2 separate regions of the Homo sapiens genome follow, and region 1 is linked to region 2. Evidence: promoter capture Hi-C in human tissues and cell types (Jung and others, 2019). All regions are on one chromosome and are shown on one strand. The core of a region is centred on a gene start or on the middle of the fragment in contact, and the rest is flanking DNA. Distances in the headings are between cores, read along the strand shown.

Region 1 (4,009 bases), core at 545-3,044, 87 kb after region 2:
TAGGGGGTGTGGGTGACACTTACCAACGTGGGGGCATTTGGTTCAGCCTGCCACCAGCTTGAGAAGGCACAGAGTGGAGATGAGGCACCGGGGCACAGGGTAAAGGAGAATCTTCTTTACTCCGCTGCTTGCCAGGACATGCCAAACCCAGAGGCTTCAAACCCTGCCTTCCCCTGGATTTGGCTAACCTGAATCCAGCCCACATTACACTCAGATTCCAGGAGAAGGCTTCCTTTATCCTGTTGGGAAGTCAGTGGCGCAGGAAGCATTGGGGGTGGGGGGTGTGGAGCAGGAAATAAGCTTTGAGCTCCCCCAAAGCAGGGTGTAGGTCTGTATCAGAAGTGGTTGTGGGGTGAATGAATAAATAACTCAATGATTCAGTGTTGCTACTCTCAGGAAGCCACCATGCTTGGTCCTGGGTTGAGAGAGCCATGGGGAGAAGACCCTGTAAATGTTACTCCCTGACTCCCCCTGGTTTCAGCCCAGGCATCACTGTGTGACTCAGGCACTGGCAGGTCTTCCAGGACCTTCCTGGGCTGAGTTCAGCTTTTTATTCACTCTGGGCTGTATCTGGGGGTACAGGAAAGCTAAGGCCCTTGTACCCCTGCCTCCTGGCTTGCCCTAGGATGATTCCATATCCTCCTCTTTTCTGCTGCATTCTCCCTGGCGCAATTCTCTAACTTGCTACTAGGATAATATAGAGAGACCAGACAAGCAAGTAGACCTGGGTCTTAGTCCTTCTCTCAACCTGGGTGAGGCCTAACAGCCACAGCAAAGATGTGCCTAAGCTTGGAACCCATGGCTATCCTCAACTATCAGCTAGTCTAATTTGAACCCAGGTAACAAAATGTGAGTGTATGTGATTGTGCATATGTGTGAGTGTATGCCTGTGTGCATCTACACGGGTGATTTCTCAGGCTCGGGGTATCTAGAGACACCTGGTTGTACTTGGACAGACTTGAAGTGCCCTTCATTTTACACATAGGGAAACAGTTTATTTCAGTTCATAGAAGTTGACATCTCCACCTGATACATGGGACATCAAAAATATATGTGTGGCAAACCCCATGGTTGCCGAGGAAGGGGGAGGGTCCCTGCTCATCTGCTCTCCTCCCCTCCACCCATGAGCCCCTCTTCCACCATCCTGTGTTCTAGGCCCCTTCCTCTCCTCGTAGCCTTTATGAGGAACAAACAAACAAAAAAACTCCAGATGGGCCGGGCGCGGTGGCTCATGCCTGTAATCGCAGCACTTTGGGAGGCTGAGGAGGGTGGATCAGCTGAGGTCAGGAGCTCGAGGCCATCCTGGCCAACATGGCGAAACCCTGTCTCTATTAAAAACAGAAAAATTAGCCAGGCATGGTGGCGGGCACCTGTAATCCCAGCTACTCAGGAAGCTGAGGCAGGAGAATCACTTGAACCCGGGAAGTACAGGTTGCAGTGAGCTGAAATTGCACCACTGCACTCCAGCCTGGGGGACAGAGCGAGACTCTGTCTCAAACAACAACAACAACAACAAACCCAGATTATATCATTGAGGATGCAAAGATGCTTTCATTATCTGGAGTCCCCATCTGTCCTTTCCTCCCCTGGCCAGCTCATGGCCCCGCCTTTCCCCGCAGGCCCACGCCTTACTGAACAACTCTGTGCACTTTGTATTTTTCCCCACAAAGCCTTGCAACAACCTTGTGAGGAGGGTATTATTACCCCCGCTTTACAGGTGAGAAGACTGCGGCTCAGAGAAGCCGAATGACTTGTCCACAGCTCTCAGCTGGCCCATAGCAGGAATGGGGTTGGACCTCAGCCTTCCTGCCTCCAAGCGTGTGCTCTGAACTGGCAGGCTGGAGGCTGTTCTGGGGAGGACGCACTGTGTCCCATGACTCTCCAGTCTCCTCGGAGCTGCTGAGCTTCCTGGCAGGAAGCCCATGGCTGCTTCTCTCCCTCTGCCCTCTGTCCACACTCCACAAGCACTCAGCTTCAGCTGATAACCACGGCAGGCGCTTGTGAGAGGGCTCTGACACCACAGGAGCCCTCTGAGGGGCCAGTCTATGGGGGGTGGTGCAGAATCCAGAGCCCCCATCCTCCTGCACCACGGGCACCAGCTTCCATACAAGTGGCCCTGGAGTCCTGACTCCCAGCTGTCAGCACCAGCAATCCTTCTCAGGAGCTAAGCCTTGGCACTTCCCAGGTCTGTAACAGGCCAGATTTCTCTTCCAGAGAAACTTCATCTGTGTCTGAGCCCAGGGCCTTGTTGCCTGGCTAGTGTCTTCATAGCTCAGATTCCTGTAACTATGAAGGGGTTGGTCCTTCCAGCTGCGTTCCATGAGAGAGGTGATGCCTTTTCCATTACATGCCAGGCCCTTGAGTCCTTTTGGCCATTAAAGGACTAGAAGAAGTCCAAAAACTTCTGGTAGTCTCTGAACCAACCCAGGTACTTCAGGTGTCTCCTGAAATGAAGCAGCTTTCCGTCCCAGGCAAAGGTCTGGGTGGGGTCAAAACCTGGGGACAAGGGTCTGGAGCTGGATGGAAAGAAAATAAGGGAATGTCAACAGCAAATGTAGCAGGACCTGGGGAACTGCCCCCAAAGAATCCAGGGGTGTCTGCAACCTACACATATAGGGAGTAACATTTTAAGCAGAGTTACTCTCTAAATTCAGCAAACAAGGAAAGATCACGTATGATCAGACTCACCCTTGACTCTTCCTTCAGAAGGTACCATGTTGAAGACTCTGACAAATTGGCGTTTCCATCAGCTTGGGAACAGATGCTGTGATTTTGGGTGCACATGCAATGGAGTGATTGTCTTACATTTAGGGACCATGTTGTGTGGAAGTGTGTATCACTAAGCACTAGACTCATATTCACACATATTGGGGCCAGGGCTGACTCAGGCAGATGGCTGGCTTCTGGCTCCTGGGGCATATGTTCACTAAACAGAACAGCAGGCTCAGTGGCTCGAATGACTGCACCTAAGCTGGGATCTGTGATCACGTGATATGACTCCACCGTGTTGACGCTCAGCATCTCCATGCCTATGTGCGTCAGGCTGGGCAAAGTAGCGGTGTTGGGACAAACAATATGAAAGAGCTGAGAGGCTGCCTCATGGACTTGTACCTGTGCACATAGGCCACTTTTGGTTTATTTTCAGAAAGTTTCTCTTTTTGAAGTGTTCCTTGTTACTGTCTCCACAACATCACATATGAGGCAGCCAGGGTTGTGACCACTTTCTGGTACAAAACAATGAGGTTTCTCTAGCACAATCATGTTTTAGAGCCTCCACCCTCTCCTGCACTGGAAGTTATCATCGATTAAGGGAGTAATTAATTAAGGGAGTAATTCATCCTACGAACTGGAGGCAGATGTCTTCTCTGTACTGGGGAAAGGTGGAGAAACATGTGAGCCTCTGATGTGACATGCCTGCCAGAGCACCTGGGCGTGGGGGGTGGGGAGGTGGAGAGAAAGGCAGGAGGTGCTTTAGGTGCCCAGGCAATAGCAGGGACAGAGGAGCTGATCAGGTCAAAAACCCTTCCAGTTGGGAAAGTGAAGGGTAGCCCCAGTGCTAAGGAAGCTGCTCTGAAAACAGAAAAGATAAGGAAGAGGGCACTGAATCGTGCCGAGGTTGCAATGATTTGAAAATCTTTCTCCAAATGACAGATTTTCCTTGAAAGTCCATTGAAAAGCATAGGCAACTGGCATTCTGCAAATATTTATACCAGCATTTAAAAATGCATTACTTTTAGGGCCAGGCGCGGTGGCTCATGCCTGTAATCCCAGCACTTTGGGAGGCTGAGGCAGGCGGATCATGAGGTCAGGAGATCGAGACCATCCTGGCTAACATGGTGAAACCCCGTCTCTACTAAAAATACAAAAAATTAGCCGGGCGTGGTGGCAGGTGCCTGTAGTCCCAGCTACTCGGGAGGCTGAGGCAGGAGAATGGTGTGAACCCGGGAGGTAGAGGTTGCAGTGAGCCAAGATTGTGCCACTGCACTCCAGCCTGGGCAACAGAGTGAGA
Region 2 (3,968 bases), core at 310-2,809:
GTGGCAGAGTTTGGACTAGAATCCACCCATAACCTCAACCCCAGGACAAACTGACCAAATCTCCATGGATCCAGTTTGGAAGAATCTTTTGGGTTTTCCCCATTGCTTCCTCCTGGTTGTCAGCAACAGCCAGCCTAAAGACCTGGTGGGGGCAGATGCAGACGACCATGTGTTCAAATTAAAAAGTAGGAGAAGCCTAGCTTTCACAGAAACTGACACATAGTTGGCACTCCAGAGATTGCAGCTATTGATGACTGAAACACAAGCGCTATTACGTTTTTCTCAGTTACAGAACAAGGTACTACTCCATAAAATCAAGCCTACTACCAAAAACAAAAGTCAGTTAACATTATGCTTATCTGTCATATCAAGCATATCAAAGTACAATGTGCAACAGAAACCTAAACGAAAAAGTGATGATGTATTTTTACTTACTCTCAAAAAATATGTTTTACAAAAAGGGCTTTCATCAAGTCAGTTTTTTGAAAACTAACCCACGTAGTTATACTTCATGAGATGACGTTTCTTTGAACAAATAAGTTAATGATATGAATAAATATTTCATCTTGGTAATGCCTTCAACACATATCTTCAATACTTTTCTTGGACTTAAAGTGACTTCAATCCCTAATCTCATCTACTGCCATGTACACAAGAAACACAGTTAATGAACTTTAAAGGCAGATGCAGTATTTCCAGGGAAGCCACCTGAACCAGGGAAGTACAAGAAAGCAAAACATCTCCACAACCACATCTAAGTGCCTTATCTTTCAACTTCTTTTCTTCAAATGGGCAATTAGAAGCTACGATACACCTTAAAGATCAGGTTTGGCATCCGCCCTGGCTAGGGCCTACCTTTCTTTTCGCGGCACTGCCACTCTGGCACCTACAGGCAGGCCTTTGGCGCCTGCAGGACTCGCAGGGAAGACAACCCCAGCCCCTGCTCTCCACGGCTCTCGTCGAAGCCCCGCACGTGGTGACCACTTGAGACGTTTTAGTGCATGGGATTTAACAGGGTCAGACCTCAGGTTGCGTTCCGGGACAGTGCAGCTCCCAGACCCGCTGAGGTCGCAGGAGGAAGGTTTTGACGCTCCTAGCGTAAACACCGACGGGACCCTCTTCGCCCCGCGGCTACCTCGCCCTCGCCGCTCGCGCGGCCCCTCAGCACCTGACGCCTCAGCCAGCCTCCAGGAGTCGCTTCCCCGCGCCTCCTTCCACCTGAGCCAGCGACGCTACCGCCACCTGCACCGGGACCCCAAATGCCAGGCCAGTGGCCGTTACCCGAGGTCGCGGCCCGGGGAAGGTCCATGGCTCAGGAGGAAAAGCCCGGGCTGCAGCTCCCCTTCCTGCACCTCTGAGATCCCCCGGCCGCCGCCATTTTCCTCGCGCCGTAACCCCACCTGATAGTTCCAGCCTCCCACCTGTGACAAGCAGGGCACGCCGCGCGACGCCGAGTGGGGTGCGTGGGCAAGCTGGGGCTCCGTAGGGGTCACAACCTCCGTGCGGAACCCGCCGTTAATTCATCCCGTAACGCGGAGGCGTCCGGCCGTCGCCCTAGTAATGCGTCCCGGAAGGCTACGTCCTGATTGGCTGCAGGCGCCGTGACGCAACGGCGTCCCCGGCTGCGTGGGAAACCCGGGTCCCCGGCGCCCCGCGCTTGCTCCACAGCCCGGGATACCCCGGGTACCTTTCTTTGAGAGCTCCTTTAAAGAGGCCTCGCTTATTTCCTCGTCTGGCCTCCTGGAGAGGAGGGACCCACGGAACGGTGGGGTGTAGGGGTGAGAAAACAACGAAATAGGAAATTAGCGGAGGTCATTTGTCCGAGGGAACCTAATGGTTCATTCAACCCCTAGAGCTGCAAAATGGAAAACAGAAATCTGGGAGTTTAATTTACAAGCCTAAATTTGGTGCGCGAAGTCACAGGACAAATCAGTAGTAGAAGCAGTTATAGAACCCAGGTTCCCTGATCAGGAGCACAAAGTTTTTCTAGCACACTCAGTGTTTCCCCAGTCCTAGAAAATGTTTCCTCCCAGTTCCCATAGCAATTTCATCACACTGCTCTTAAAAGGTCTCGATCACCTATCATGGTGTGTCTGTCCTGTCCCCTAACCTACTAGATTGCATGCCCCTGAATGGTGGGGACTGTGGTTAAACCCCTTTTCATTTCCCTTAAGCAATTCCCTCCTCAACTTGGCCTTCAACAAATACAATAAGAATCTTAAAAATAATAAACATAGCTACACATCACACACAGCCACTCATCAGTAGTTCATGTATGTCTATACGTTTTATCCGTTTATTCAACAAAGCACAGAGTGAATATTTTTAAAATTACAAGGTTCCTGACCTCACAAAATTTATGGTGTAATAATAATGACCATCTACATGTTGGCTGCATAGCTTCAATATAGCTAAATTATATCCCCAAATTGCCTGTAAATCAAAGATTCTTGTGCTCTTTTCCTAAATTAGCTTCATAATTTCTCTAAGTTTGTTCCAAAACATTTTAATATTTAAGATGTGCTAAAATTGCATCAGAAAGTGAAGAATGACTACAGAGAGAAACACCAGAACAAAAGTCAATTCTGCCAATTATGCCTATGACTTTAGGCCTCCTTTTTACCTTTAAAATAAGATTACTGGAATAAAAGATCTCCCAATTCTTTTTTGTTGTTGTTAAGAGTTGGCCTGGCTATGCTCCAGAACCTTCAAGGGCTCTACTGTGGTTCTTTGGGGGCTTGCCGGAGGTTCCTCATAGCCTTTGCAGCTCCATTGCAGAGAGCTCTAGCATTGTGAGGTGTGTCCGGTGATACAGCCCAAGAGGCAAGGTTGCCCTTACCGCCCTAACCACAGAGGACAGTGCTGGGCTCTTTCTTTTTTCTTTTCTTTGCTTTTTTTTTTTTTTTTTTTTTTTTTGAGACAGGGTCTCGCTCTGTCACCTAGGCTGGAGTGCAGTGGCATGATTGTGGCCCACTACAACCCCTGCCTCCTGGACTCAAGCAATCCTCCCACCTCAGCCTCCAGACTAACTGGAACTACAGGCATCTGCCACCATGCCCAGCTAATTTTGTGTTTTTTGTAGAGACAGGATTTCAACATGTTGCCAGGCTGGTCTCGAACTCCTGAGCTCAAGCTATCCACCCACCTTGGCCTCTCAAAGTGCTGGGATTAGAGGCTTGAGCCACCGCGCCTGGCCCTGAGCCCGTTCTTGATCTGAGCTACTGATCAGTAGCCACCTTCCACGTCAACTGCTAAAGGGATAGGAACAGAATTCCCAAGGGCAAAATATGCTGATTTCTAAACTCAGAGATCTGCTAAGTGTCATGCTTCTTTCTTTTTGGCAGAGGTGCAAGGTGTAGTAACATGTTTTTCATTCTGGGGAAAATGTCTTGACGTGCCCAAGATCATTGGACCACTTCAGCATCCAAAATGATGTATAGTTTACATAATGCTATTGTACCAGGATCATTCTTTGTTTTGATACATGTTCTATGCTTACACAAGATGTTGACATAAGGGGAAGCTAGGTAAAGAATATATGGAAAAATCCCTGTACTCTCTTTACATCTCTCCTAAGTCTAAAACTACCCCCCCAGTTTTTTAAATAATTATTTTAAAATATCACCAATGTAGCAAGCTCCTGAATTTTTGTGGGGTTTATCCGCGTCTGAAATGTATGTATTTCATCAAGACATCCAGAGAAGTAGTCCCCGACCTTTTTGGCACCAGGGACTGCTTTCGTGGAAGACAGTTTTTCCATGAACGGGGTGAAGGGTGAAGGGGGTGATTTCGGGATGATTCAACCACATTACATTTATTGTGCACTTTATTTCTATTATTATTACATTGTAGTATATAACACTTAAAAAGTGGTGTTAATCTGTGCTCTACTGTCCCAAAGGGACAAGTTTCTCAATCTTTCCTGACCCCAGTAACAGAGCATCACAGCTGATGAATTGCTGAACCTC

The links. The method cuts DNA at HindIII sites, captures the fragments that hold promoters and counts their contacts. A contact is called where the count stands out against the background at its distance.
Region 1: a fragment that was not itself captured here is called in contact with the fragment with the promoter of LCLAT1 in region 2 in 2 of the 25 tissues and cell types used here (aorta and pancreas).

Annotation. Positions count from the first base shown.
Region 1 is chr2:30,357,975-30,361,983 of GRCh38, reverse strand. No RefSeq gene overlaps it. Among named protein-coding and RNA genes, the nearest start is that of LINC01936, 13 kb to the right of the region's middle. The HindIII fragment of the contact is 3,397 bases long and covers 96-3,492 here.
Region 2 is chr2:30,444,837-30,448,804 of GRCh38, reverse strand. LCLAT1 (lysocardiolipin acyltransferase 1) reads right to left here and starts at 1,559. Exons shown (of 6, transcript NM_001002257.3): 1 at 1,422-1,559. RefSeq lists enhancers at 395-1,131, 1,329-1,448, 1,659-1,718, 1,759-1,828, 1,132-1,869. The HindIII fragment of the contact is 9,254 bases long and covers 1-3,968 here.